Regions from separate parts of the Homo sapiens genome. Here all the other regions are linked to region 3. The links are contacts of gene promoters, found by promoter capture Hi-C in blood cells and fetal thymus (Javierre and others, 2016). All regions are on one chromosome and are shown on one strand. Each heading gives the region's core, a stretch centred on a gene start or on the middle of the fragment in contact. The rest is flanking DNA. Distances are from core to core; before and after follow the strand shown.

Evidence for each region. The method cuts DNA at HindIII sites, captures the fragments that hold promoters and counts their contacts. A CHiCAGO score of 5 or more calls a contact.
Region 1: a contact is called between a fragment that was not itself captured here and the fragment with the promoter of BTBD18 in region 3, in 1 of 17 cell types (naive CD8 T cells). The highest score is 5.0, in naive CD8 T cells.
Region 2: a contact is called between a fragment that was not itself captured here and the fragment with the promoter of BTBD18 in region 3, in 9 of 17 cell types (fetal thymus, naive CD4 T cells, total CD8 T cells and 6 more). The highest score is 10.9, in fetal thymus.

Annotation. Positions count from the first base shown.
Region 1 is chr11:57,559,663-57,563,409 of GRCh38, forward strand. UBE2L6 (ubiquitin conjugating enzyme E2 L6) reads right to left here. Exons shown (of 4, transcript NM_004223.5): 2 at 675-770. Among named protein-coding and RNA genes, the nearest start is that of UBE2L6, 6.1 kb to the right of the region's middle. The HindIII fragment of the contact is 4,082 bases long and covers 1-3,291 here.
Region 2 is chr11:57,532,008-57,536,180 of GRCh38, forward strand. No RefSeq gene overlaps it. Among named protein-coding and RNA genes, the nearest start is that of TIMM10, 3.3 kb to the left of the region's middle. The HindIII fragment of the contact is 4,634 bases long and covers 1-4,173 here.
Region 3 is chr11:57,750,425-57,754,405 of GRCh38, forward strand. It overlaps BTBD18 (BTB domain containing 18), which reads right to left and starts at 1,395. Exons shown (of 3, transcript NM_001145101.3): 1 at 1,117-1,395; 2 at 641-812. The coding sequence starts at 764. All of the region lies in intron 2 of TMX2-CTNND1 (TMX2-CTNND1 readthrough (NMD candidate)), which reads left to right. The HindIII fragment of the contact is 11,151 bases long and covers 1-2,177 here.

The DNA.
Region 1 (3,747 bases), core at 1-2,500, 190 kb before region 3:
ATTCCAAAGAGCTTTGACTAACAAAAAGTTCAATGTCTTAAATTTTATTTCCAAGTAATGAAAAGTGTAGATTAATTTCTCAAAGTATCTTTAGTCACTAATAATCGGATGAAAAAAAGAGAGATCTTGCACTCTGAAAACTATTTTGGAATACTGCTTTCAGAGAGACTTTATCAAGAAAATACCAAATAATAAACAGAGAAAAATAAGAACAGTAGAAATGAGCTATTTGTGTTTTCATATGTAACAATTTTCTGAAATAAGACTACAGAAAAACAAAATACAATTTAGGTTTGCGGGAGCAAATTCTCCCAACTGTGAGAGCCTGGAAGTTTATCCCTACCCCTTGACAAAGGTCCAAGAAATCTTTATTTCTTCTTCTTTTTGATGCTGTTTGTCTCCTGAAGTTCTGTGGTGGGCTTGGTGGCTACCGGTTTAAGGAAGGGGTCTCCTACTAAGTCAAAAGTCCTTTGGCATCTTTATCAGAAGGTGAACCTCAGAAGTATCTGGATCTCAGAAGCAATCAATTCAGAGAGAAGCCCCCTCCAGCAATGATAACCTCCAGTAAAAGGATCTCAAGCAGGGAAAATTCTTGCCTAGTCCTAACCCTCCCTGCCCATGTCCCTGGCCTAATTTGGCCCCAATCCAAAGCCATGGTCCCCATGGATACTCACGGGTAGGAGGAGAGCGTGCCACACCAGGACATTGGCATCATCGCTGGACAGGTTCCGCAGGTATGGGGGAGGCTTCTTCTGAAGATCCTCCAGCTCCTGCAGGGGACACAAGTGAGTGGGCAGTTGGCCTAGTCCTCCTTATTTCAGCCCCCTCCCCCTGCCCCAGCAGCAAGCTGCCCCAAGTTCAAAACTGGCCATCTTAGGGGCAGAAGCCGGTAAAGTCAGAGCCTACATTTACTGAGCACTTAGTATGTATCAGGCATGGTGCTGGTGCTTTTTCTTTTTTCTTTTTTTTTTTTTTTGAGACAGAGTCTCGCTCTGTTGCCCAGGCTGGAATGCAGTGGCGCAATCTCGGCTCCCTGCAAGCTCCGCCTCCTGGGTTCACGCCATTCTCCTGCCTCAGCCTCCCGAGTAGCTGGGACTACAGACGCCCGCCACCACGCCCCGCTAATTTTTTGTATTTTTAGTAGAGACGGGGTTTCACCGTGTTATCCAGGATGGTCTTGATCTCCTGACCTCGTGATCCGCCCGCCTCAGCCTCCCAAAGTGCTGGGATTACAGACGTGAGCTACCGCGCCCAGCCGGTGCTGGTGCTTTAAGTGAATTTTCTGACTGTGGCCTCACCACAACTCTGGTACACCTAGGTACTAGGTGCAGGGAAAAATAGATCACTTCTCCCAGATATTAAAACTTGGGAGTAAGTGCTCTTAGGAGGCTTTTCTCCTGAAAGCAGGGTACTTAACCTCTGCTCTCTAGCCTTCTTCCTAGAAAGTCACTAGGTTCTAATTCCCTTCCTCTCTTCCTTTCTTCCTTCCGTAAGCATCGACTGAGCATCTGCAGCAAAGACATGACCCCACCGCTTCAAACTCTGCCAGATCAGGGCTGGAGAAGGGAAATGACTCCGGAAGACCATAGCAGAGAAGAACTCTACACACCAAGTGGGGAAACAAGGGGGCAAGGAGTGACTCATCTTCCCAAAACTGTGGCCCAAACACCTGAATATCCCTTCTGAATTCTCCCAACAGCCATTACTGAGCATCTTCTACTGACATTTAACTGAGACAGGACCCAGTCCTCAAGAATTTCAATAGAGTAATGGACGAAACATGGATGTGATTATGTGAATGTGTATGGATATACGGTAAGGAAGGAGATGAGAGGGGAGAAGGAAGGTTTCACAGAGGGTGCACTCTGTGAGCTGGGCCATGCAGAATGAACAGGAATCCATAAAGCAGAGAAGGGGAGAAGCACCAGGGCAGAGGGCCCAGATGGGAAACATAAGTACAGTATGTCCTGCAGAAGGTTAATAGGTAGTACAGGAAAAGGGTTCCAAGGTCAAGTACATTTGGTAAATCTCGGCTAAAGAGGTTTCTTCACTGGAGAACTTCCCACAGCCTTTAATATGCTATTGTGTATGGTGATTGACCAAGCTGTGGGCCCACAGCATGCAGTACTTCTCAAATGTATTTGACAAAGGAATGCTGCCCCTCTTTTAGAGTCCATCTTGTGGGACTACAGGCCTTTTCTTGTTGGGGAAGATAAAGACACTCAAGGGCAGGTCACATTTCTCTGGAACAATGAATTGGTACAAACCAGTGGTTCTCAACCAGGGGCGATTTTACCCAGCCAGGGACATTCGGTAATATCTGGGAACATTGTTCCGTTGTCATAAATCGGGAGAGTGGATAGAGGCCAGAGATGCTGATAAACATCCTAACAAAGAATTATCTGGCCGAACAAGAGGGGAGACCGCTGCCCTGCAGGGTGAGTCTCAGGCCTGGTCACATTCACCACAAGCTGACTGAAGGGCCTTTGGGCCTTAGGCGAACATCAGCAGTAGTACCCTGGCAGTACTCCTCATAGACCCGTGGTGGTGGTGGACAAGGGGAGAGACTCCTATATCTGGGGAAAAGGGAGGGAAGAGTGGGAAGGACTGTGTCCTGTGGTTTCAGTGCCAGCTTAGCTGCAGTAGCACAGAGCACTAGAGAGATTTCTAAGGTTTCCGACTCCAGGCCCTGGCCCATGGACAGCAACTGTGGACCTCTCTGGGGCCCAGCAGTGAACTAACCACCCTAAGGGGAAGAACACAAGCCTGGCTGGCTTCACCACCTGCTGATTGCAGAGCCCTAGGGCCTTGAGCGAACGTAGGGCATAGCCAGGTAGTGATTACAGCGGGCCTTGAGCAAAACCCAGTCTTGTGCTGGCTTCAGGCCTGACCCAGTGCAGTCCCAATTCTGGTGACCATGGGGATGCTTGTGTCACACCTCACCCAGCTCCAGGGAGCTCAGCACGGAGAGTAAGACTCCATTTGTTTGGGAGAAAGTAAGGGAAGAAAATGAGAGTCTCTACCTGGTAATCCAGAGAATTCTTCCTGATGTTATCCAAAACCACAAAGGTAGTAACCTCTAAAAGTCTGCAAGAACTACAGTGTTACTAGGCTTGGAGTGCCCCCTTATGTAGACATGGCTGCAGTGACCAAAACTTAGATCACAACAGCCAAGCCCCTTCCAATACCTCGAAAGCCTTCCCAAGAAGGATGAGTACAAACAAGCCCAGACTACAAAGACTATAATAAATACCTAACTCCTTAGTGCCCAGACACCAACAAACATCCACAAGCTTCAAGACGATCCAGGAAAACACAGCCTCACCAAACGAACTAAATAAGGCACACAGGGCCAATTCCAGAGAAACAGAGATATGTGACCTTTCAGACAGAGAAATCAAAATAGCTGTTTTGAGGAAACTCAAAGAAATTCAATATTTCCTCCACAGAGAAGGAATTCAGAATCCCATCAACAAATTTAACAAATAAATTGAAATAATTAAAAAGAATCAAGGAGAAATTCCGGAGTCGAAAAATGCAATTGAGGCCGGGTGCAGTGGCTCATGCCTGTAATCCCAGCACTTTGGGAGGCCGAGGCAGTCAGATCACCTGAGGTTAGGAGTGCAAGACCAGCCTGGCCAACGTGGTGAGGCCCTGTTTCTACTAAAAATACAAAAATTAGCTGGGCATGGTGGTGCAGGCCTGTAATCCCAGCTACTTGGGAGGCTCAGGCAGGAGAATTGGAGA
Region 2 (4,173 bases), core at 941-3,440, 220 kb before region 3:
GAAGTTAACCACTATTCTGACCTCTATCACCATCAATTAGTTTTCCTTGTTCTTGAACTTCGTGTAAATGGAATTATACATTATTTTCTATTTTGTGCCTGACTTCTTTAGCTCAATGTACCTGTAAGATTTCCTCCATATTGTTGTGTGCATCTGTTATTCCTTCTGTTTTATTGCTGTCTAGTGTTTGATTGTATGAGTATGCCACAATTCATCTATCCATTCTCCCGTTGGTGGATGTTTGGATTGTTTCCAGTTTTTGCCTATTATGCAATAATGCTGCTATGATACTCTTGTACAGATGGACATATCTTGCCTTGGTTTTTGCCTTTGAAAATATAGTCAACATTGGCCGGGTGCAGTGGCTCACGCCTGTAATCCCAGCACTTTGGGAGGCTGAGGTGGGTGGATCACCTGAGGTCAGGAGTTCGAGACCAGCCTGGCCAACTTGGTGAAACCCCATCTCTACTAAAAATACAAAAAAGTAGCCCGGTGTGGTGACGGGTGCTTGTAATCCCAGCTACTCAAGAGGCTAAGCAGGAGGCTAAGGCAGGAGAAACACTTGAACCCGGGAGGCAGAGGTTGCAGTGAGCCAAGATCGCACCATTGCACTCCAGCCTGGGCAACAAGAGTGAAACTCCGACCCCCCACTCCCCGCAAAAAAGAAACATTATGGAAAGTTAAGAAACTGCGTGGGAAAAGGAGATGGTTTCTTACAAGAGGAATCTTGCAATATCTACTGGGCCTTATGAAAGGTTGCATACTGTATGATTTCATTTAAGTAACATTCTCAAAATCACAAAATTATAGAGATGGAGAAGAGATTTCTGATTGTCTAGTGTTAGGGTTGATGGGGAGATAGAAGTGTACCTGTAAAGGGTAGCACAAGAGAGATCTTTGTGTTGATGGATAATTCTGTATCCTGATTGTGGTGGTGGTTACAAGAATCTACACAGGTGATAAGATGTCATAGAACTGGCAGGGTGCGGTGGCTCACGCCTGTAATCCCAGCACTGTGGGAGGCCCAGGCGAGCGAATCACAAGGTAGGAGTTCGAGACCAGCCTTGTTGGTGAAACTCCGTCTCTACTAAAAATACAAAAAATTAGCTGGGGGTAGTGGCGGGCACCTGTAACCCCAGCTACTCAGGAGCCTGAGGCAGGAGAATCGTTTGAACCCGGGAGGTGGAGGTTGCAGTGAGCCGAGATCGTGCCACTGCACTCCAGCCCAGGCGACAGAGTGAGACTCCGTCTCAAAAAAAAAAAAAAAGCCAGGCGCGGTGGCTCACACCTGTAATCCCAACACTTTGGGAGGCCGAGGCGGGTGGATCACGAGGTCAGGAGATCGAGACCATCCTGGTTAACATGGTGAAACCCCGTCTCTACTAAAATAAAAAAAATCAGCCGGGTGTGGTGGCATGCGCCTATAGTCCCAGCTACTCAGGAGGGCGAGACAGGAGAATCGCTTGAACCCGGGAGGCGGGAGGCAGAAGTTGCAGTGAGCCGAGATTGTGCCACTGCACTCCAGCTTGGGCGACAGAGCAAGACTCGGTCTAAAAAAAAAAAAGAAAGAAAAAAAAAGTCATAGAACTACTACACACACACATTGTACCAATATAAATTATCTGGCTTTGATATTGAATATAGTTATGTTAGATTTAACCTTTAGTGGAAGTTGGTAAAGGGCGTACAGGACCTCTCTGTACTATTAATGCAACTTCCTGTGAAACTATAATTATTTCTAAATAAAAAGTTTTAAAAATCTCTACAAAAAAGAAAACAAATAAGATTATACAAGTATGAGTAAGAGCTGGCCATAAAGAAAGAAAGAAAAATATTTATATAAAAGATTGTGTAAGTAAAGTACCTAGTCCATGGTAGATGCTCAATAAAAATAAATCATTGTTTTCATTCTTTTTCATTTTTAAACTTTCACTGGGGCAAATTTATTTTTATTTTTACTTAGGATTTTTGAGGCAGGATCTTGCCTTGTCACCCAGGCTTGAGTGCAATGGTATGATCAGTGCTCACTGCAATCGTGAACTCCTTGGCTTAAGCAATCCTCTTACCTCAGCCTCCTAAGTAGCTGGAACTAGAGGCATGAGCCACCATGCCTGGCTAATTTTTTTTTTTAAGAGATAGGGTCTCATCATGTTTCCCAGGCTGGTTTCAAACTCCTGGGCTCAAACAATCCTCCTGTCTTGGCCTCTCAAAGTGCTGGGATTACAGGCATGAGCCACCCCATGCCCAGATGGAATATTTAAAACATACAGAAAAGCAGAGAGAACAGGACATTGAGCTTCCATATATTCATCACCAGGACTTAGGAATTGTTAACATTTGTCCATATTTTCTTCATCTATTTTTATCTCTAACAGATAAAGCCCTTTTATTTATTTATTTTTTCCTTGAGACAGGGTCTCTGTCGCTCAGCCTGGAGTGCAGAGACCCAATCATAGCTCACTGTTAGCTTAAACTCCTGGGCTCAAGCAATCCTCCCATCTCAGCCTCCTGAATAGCTAGGACTACAGGCGCAAGCCACCATGCCTGAGTGGTTTTTAAAATTTTTTGTAGAGATAGGGTCTTGCTATGTTGTCCAGGCTGGTTTCAAACTCCTGGCCTCAAGCGATCCTCCTGCCTCAGCCTCCCAAAGCACTGGCATTACAGGCATGAGTCACTGCACTGGGCCCTGCTTAACAAAAAAAATTTTTTTAAACGGAGTCTCGCTCTGTCACCAGACTGGAGGATAGTGGCACGATCTCCGCTCACTACAGCCTCTGCCTCCCAGGTTCAAGGGATTCTCCTGACTCAGCCTCCCAAGTAGCTGGGACTACAGGCGCATGCCACCACACCCAGCTAATTTTTGTGTTTTTAGTAGAGATGGGGTTTCACCATGTTGGCCAGGATGGTCTCAGTCTCCTGACCTCATGATCCACCTGCCTTGGCCTCCCAAAGTGCTTTATACACCGCGCCCGGCCAACAAATTTTTAAGTGCACAAAATAGTATTGTTAACTATATGTACCATATTGTACACAGATTTCTAGAACTTATTCATCTTGCATAACTGAAATTGTATACCCATTGAACAGCAACTCTCCATCTCCCCAGCTGCTCAGCCTCTGGAAAACCATTGCTCTTATTGATGATGATGCTATTGTTATTATGATTATTTACTATGAGACTGTGTCTTTCCTCTATGTGGAGACCTACAGGTAGGAATCTCCAATGGTCCCAGTTGAATTGCTTCTTGTAGAAGACAGTTTAGATAGCCTCAGACTTTGAAGATATCCTTAGACTCCAGATATGTCATCCAAAGCTACTGATCTCTGTCAACACCATGCTGAAACTCTGGCTCCTCATTCTACCCTGCATTCTACCCCTTCCCAACCTTGCAAAGGTGAGTTGTATATTTGTCATTCATCGTGGGTCAGTATTGTCCTCTTGGGTGGGACCCCAGCCCCAGAAGAAGAGATGCAGAGTTTTCATCTAGAATCACTTCAAGTGGGCCCTGACCACTCATGAGAGGTGCAGAGAATACAAAAACAGAGGTTTCCTGTAACCTCCCTTGTGATGAAATGGCTTACGTCATTCTATTCACTTGAAGAAAAAGCTGGCCCTGGCTTAATCACTGTCTGCACTATTACTGTTTCCCATCACTTCTTCTTACCTCCATGGCTGATACTGTGGTCCAAGCCACCACCATCCTGCACCAGGGTCACTGAGTTTGTCTCCTGACTGCTCTCCCCACTTCTATCCATGCTTCTTCACTTTATTCTCAAAACAGCATCCATCCAGAGTATATCTGCCCAAGATTGGCGAGTTTTTCCACATCTCTCTCTGGCTTGCTGGTTTTTTGTTTAAATTCATTTCTCTTATCCTACTGTCATTAGATATTGAAAAGAGCAAAATACTCTGGGCATGGTGGCTCATGCCTATAATCCCAGCCGGGTTTCAAGTATTACTAGAGCCGGCTGGCAACCATTAATATTGGACTATTTCATGACTAGTACCCAAACCTAGATGCACAGAAAGATCTCTCTTTCAGATCATCCCGGGCAAGACCTCCAAGTTCCTGTCATATTTCTGTTAATTAATTAGTTATTTCATTCAGTATGTATTTATCAAGTACCTAATATGAGCCAGGCAATTCTGCTGGGATCTAGGCATACAGCCAT
Region 3 (3,981 bases), core at 145-2,644:
GTGGCTCACGCCTATAATCCCAGCACTTTGGCAAGCCCAGGCGGGTGGATCACTTGAGGCCAGGAGTTTGAGACCAGCCTGGCCATCATGGCAAAACCTCATCTCTACTAAAAATACAAAAGTTAGCTGGGCGTAGTGGCGCATGCCTGTAATCTCAGCTACTTGAGAAAGCTAAGGCATGAGAATCACTTGAACCCAGGAGGTGGAGGTTGCAGGTAGCTGTGATTGTGCCACCACACTCCTGCCTGGGCAAGAGAGTGAGACTCTCAAAAAGAAAACATAATAGTATCATCTAACACATATTGTGGTTAGTATATTAAAAGCACTATTCTAAGTGCTTACCCACATTAACTCTTAATCTTCACAACCATCCCATTGGAATATTATCCATGTTATATAGAATGTATCTGCTTATAAAACTTTACAATTAGATTCATTATTTAAGAGAAAGAAGCAAAGTCACAATTTCACTCTTGAAAACAGTAGTAATTGTCCTAGAAACAAACAGCCCTTTACCAAATAGTTTACAGTGGTCATAGGCAGTAATATTTTGCTGATTTTGTCCTTTACCCTCTGGCTCTGAACTCATTTTATCTTATTCTATGGTGAGTTTTCAGTTGAATTCCGACCACTCTCTTACCTTCTGCCTGCAGAAGGACATCACAGAACACATCACTCTGCTGCTGGTGATGAAGCTGCAGAAAAGCTAACCTGAGGAACCGGGGGTTCCTGTATAGGATTTTGGGACTGGCAGGAGAGCACATGTTGGCAAGAGTCTTAACAAACCTTCTAGGTTTTCACAGATCAGACTCCTGTAGGTGAGATAATACATTTCAGAGGCATGGTTACATCTAATTTGTTTTTTGTCTTTGAAATGGCAGGGGAATTTTGAAAGTGAGAGATAATAGTATGAGTTGAGGAAACATCAGCCCAGAAATTGTGCCAAGGATATCTCAAGAAAGAAAATTATCATAGTGGTTACATGTGGGAGCTCAGAGATAAGCCTAGGTTTGGGTCTTGGCTCTATTTATTAGCCTGGCTGTATAATCTCACACAGGTGACCTAACTTCTCTGAGTCTCACTTTCCTATCCATGAAATAGAATAATAGTACTTACCTTGTAGGGTTGTTTTAAAGATTAAATGAGTCAGTGAAGGTAAAGTTGCTTAGCACAGTGAGTGCCTGGCACAAAATAACTACCAAGCCCCAAATGGTAACTATTATTATCCTTCAACCTTCCTCATTTCCATTACCACTGAGACTCAACTGCTACAATGCTGACTACTTATATTCTTCCTGAGCACCACATCCCAGCTCCACAGGTATAATCTTCAAGTTAACACTTTTAAGGAAACATTACTGGGTATAAAATTATCTCTAGTAAGTCGTATGCGCCTTTTCTCTGAGCTCACTGTATCACACTAACCAGCAGAGGGTGCACAATAAAGAAGAGAAGCCTCTGACTCTGCGGGAAGGTCTCTCACAGAACCAAGGACGTTGCCACCCTTGGCTGGGTGTACTTGACCAAAGCGAGCCTGACTGACCCTGGTAGTAGGCAAAGAATTTGGCCTTTACGTTTGTATAGTTAATTACCAGGCTAACAATGCAGCAAGGATAGTAAAGCATTTTACCCCTCCCAAAACAAACTGAGTATTCTGACTTCAGGCTTATGTCCAGCTTTTTAGCTCCGAAACCCCCCCACTCACTGCACAGCTGTGTTCCTTTCCTGGAATGCAGTTTTCTATCAGGTAGCACTGAGGGTCCGAACAGTTCACGTCAAAACTATCAGGAAAGAAGAATGAAAAGGTAAATTAAGAGAAGGCGGGCTTGGCTGGGCGGGGTGGCTCACGCCTGTAATCCCAGCACTTTGGGAGGCCGAGGCGGGTGGATCACCTGAGGTTAGGAGTTTGAGACCAGCCTGGCCAACATGGTGACTCCCCGTCTCTACAAAAATACGAAAATTAGCCGGGCATGGTGGCAGGCGCCTGTAATCTCAGCTACTCAGGAGGCTGAGGTGGGAGAATCGCTTGAACCTGGGAGGCAGAGGTTGTAGATAGAGCCACTGCACTCCAGCCTGGGCGACAGAGCGAGACTCCGTCTCAAAAAAAAAAAAAAAATTCCCATCCCAGTGAGAGAGATGTGGATGGAGGATGGCAGCTGTTGCAAGGGCCCTGGGGAAGCTTCTCAATCCACGATCGCCTGGCCTTGCCTCCAGACCCAACTTGAAATAGCTTTTCGGTAGACTTTGCTCCTGTTGCCTTCTCTGTGCTTGTCCTCTGTCCAGCCTGCCTTGCTTCCTCTCAATGTTCAGCGTTGAGTCAGGAGGCTGAGCAAAGATGCGCAGGTGGGCCAACGGCTGAGTGCTTCACCTCCCCATCCAGAAGCAAGGGAATCGGTGTTGGCGGAGAAAGCAGGGCTTCAGGGAGAGCCCTGCAAAGCGGGGTGGCCCGCACGCTTGGGCGCCCTGGCCCAACTCCTTTGAAGAAAGACTCCTAGGCGCGAGGGTTTCTGGGAATGGACCGTGGGGATCCGGGAGGCCCAAAGTCAGGACTTCCCGTCACGGCCACCTCCGCCAGCATAGACTTTGCAGGCAGCCCCTGGCGCCCTTGTATCCCTGCGGGCTTCAGCACCCACATGCACTGGGTGGTAGTGATAGCGAGGGTTGTAAGGCCACGCGGCCAGCGCCACACACCTCGTGCCACCGTCCTAGCGCGCTGCGCGTCGCAGAGCCCTACGCCCCTCCTCCTCCCGAGTCCTCGGGCCTACGTCGTCCGGCATACGTCATCCCCATTGGCCGAAGGCTCCCGGGAGAACCAATCAGAACAGGAGGAGCGCTTTGGGCGGGAGGCTAAGTCTCGAGGGACTTGAGGGCTGAGGGAAGATGGCTGGGCTGCAAGAGGCAGGGGGATGGGCCCGTCAGGGAGGAATTCTTGTGAAAGCCGTCGTCTGCCTCAGCACTTGATGAAAACACACCGAAAAAGAGGGTAGGGATGCTGTAGTAGAGCAGGCGCCAAGGCGGTTAAGGGTCATGTCCGTCTTCCCTTTGAAGAGGCAGTAGATGCCCTTGGCTCTGCCTGGAGCGCTCCATGTTTCGTGATGGAAGTCTCTGGATGGCTCTGGTAACACCGGGTCCCCCATATGGCTAATTTAGAAATCTCCTAAGACCAGAGATGTTATGGAATAAGGTCCTTGGGCAGTTTCTGAATTCAGTTTCTTCACTGATTCCACTCCAACCCCAAATCTTGGAGAACTAATGACCCAGGGGTTTTGCAGAAAATCCCCCCCCCCGCCCCCGCGAACGGTCTCCATTATCGTTACAGAGATGATTTTTTAAAAAAATGTTAATTAGGCCTGGCGCGGTGGTTCACGCTTGTAATCCCAGGACTTTGGGAGGCTGAGGGGGGCGGATCACGAGGTCAGGAGTTAGAGACCAGCCTGGCCAACATGGTGAAACCCCGTCTCTACAAAAATACAAAAAATTAGCCGGGCCTGGTGGCGCGTGCTGTAATCCCAGCAACTCGGGAGGCTGAGGCAGGAGAATCGTTTGAACCCGGGAGGCAGAGGTTTCACTGAGCCGAGATGACGCCACTGCACTCCAGCCTGGGTGACAGAGCAAGACTCAGTCTCAGAAAAAAAAAAAAAAGGTAATTAATGTTGCCCAGGATGTGACGCGATCCCGGCTCACTGCAGCCTCGACCTCTGGAGCTCCAGCAATCCTTCCACCTCAGCCTCCCGAGTAGCTGGGGCTATAGGCAAGTGCCACCATGCCTGGCTGATTTAATTGTTTTTCTTTTATTTATTTATTTATTTATTTTTTGGAAACAGAGTTCCGCTCTTCTTGTCCACGCTGGAGTGCAAGGCGTGATCTTGGCTCACTGCAACCTCCACCTCAGGGTTCAAGCAATTCTCCTGCCTCAGCCTCCTGAGTAGCTGGGATTACAGGCATATGCCACCATGCCCAGCTAAGTTTTGTATTTTTAGT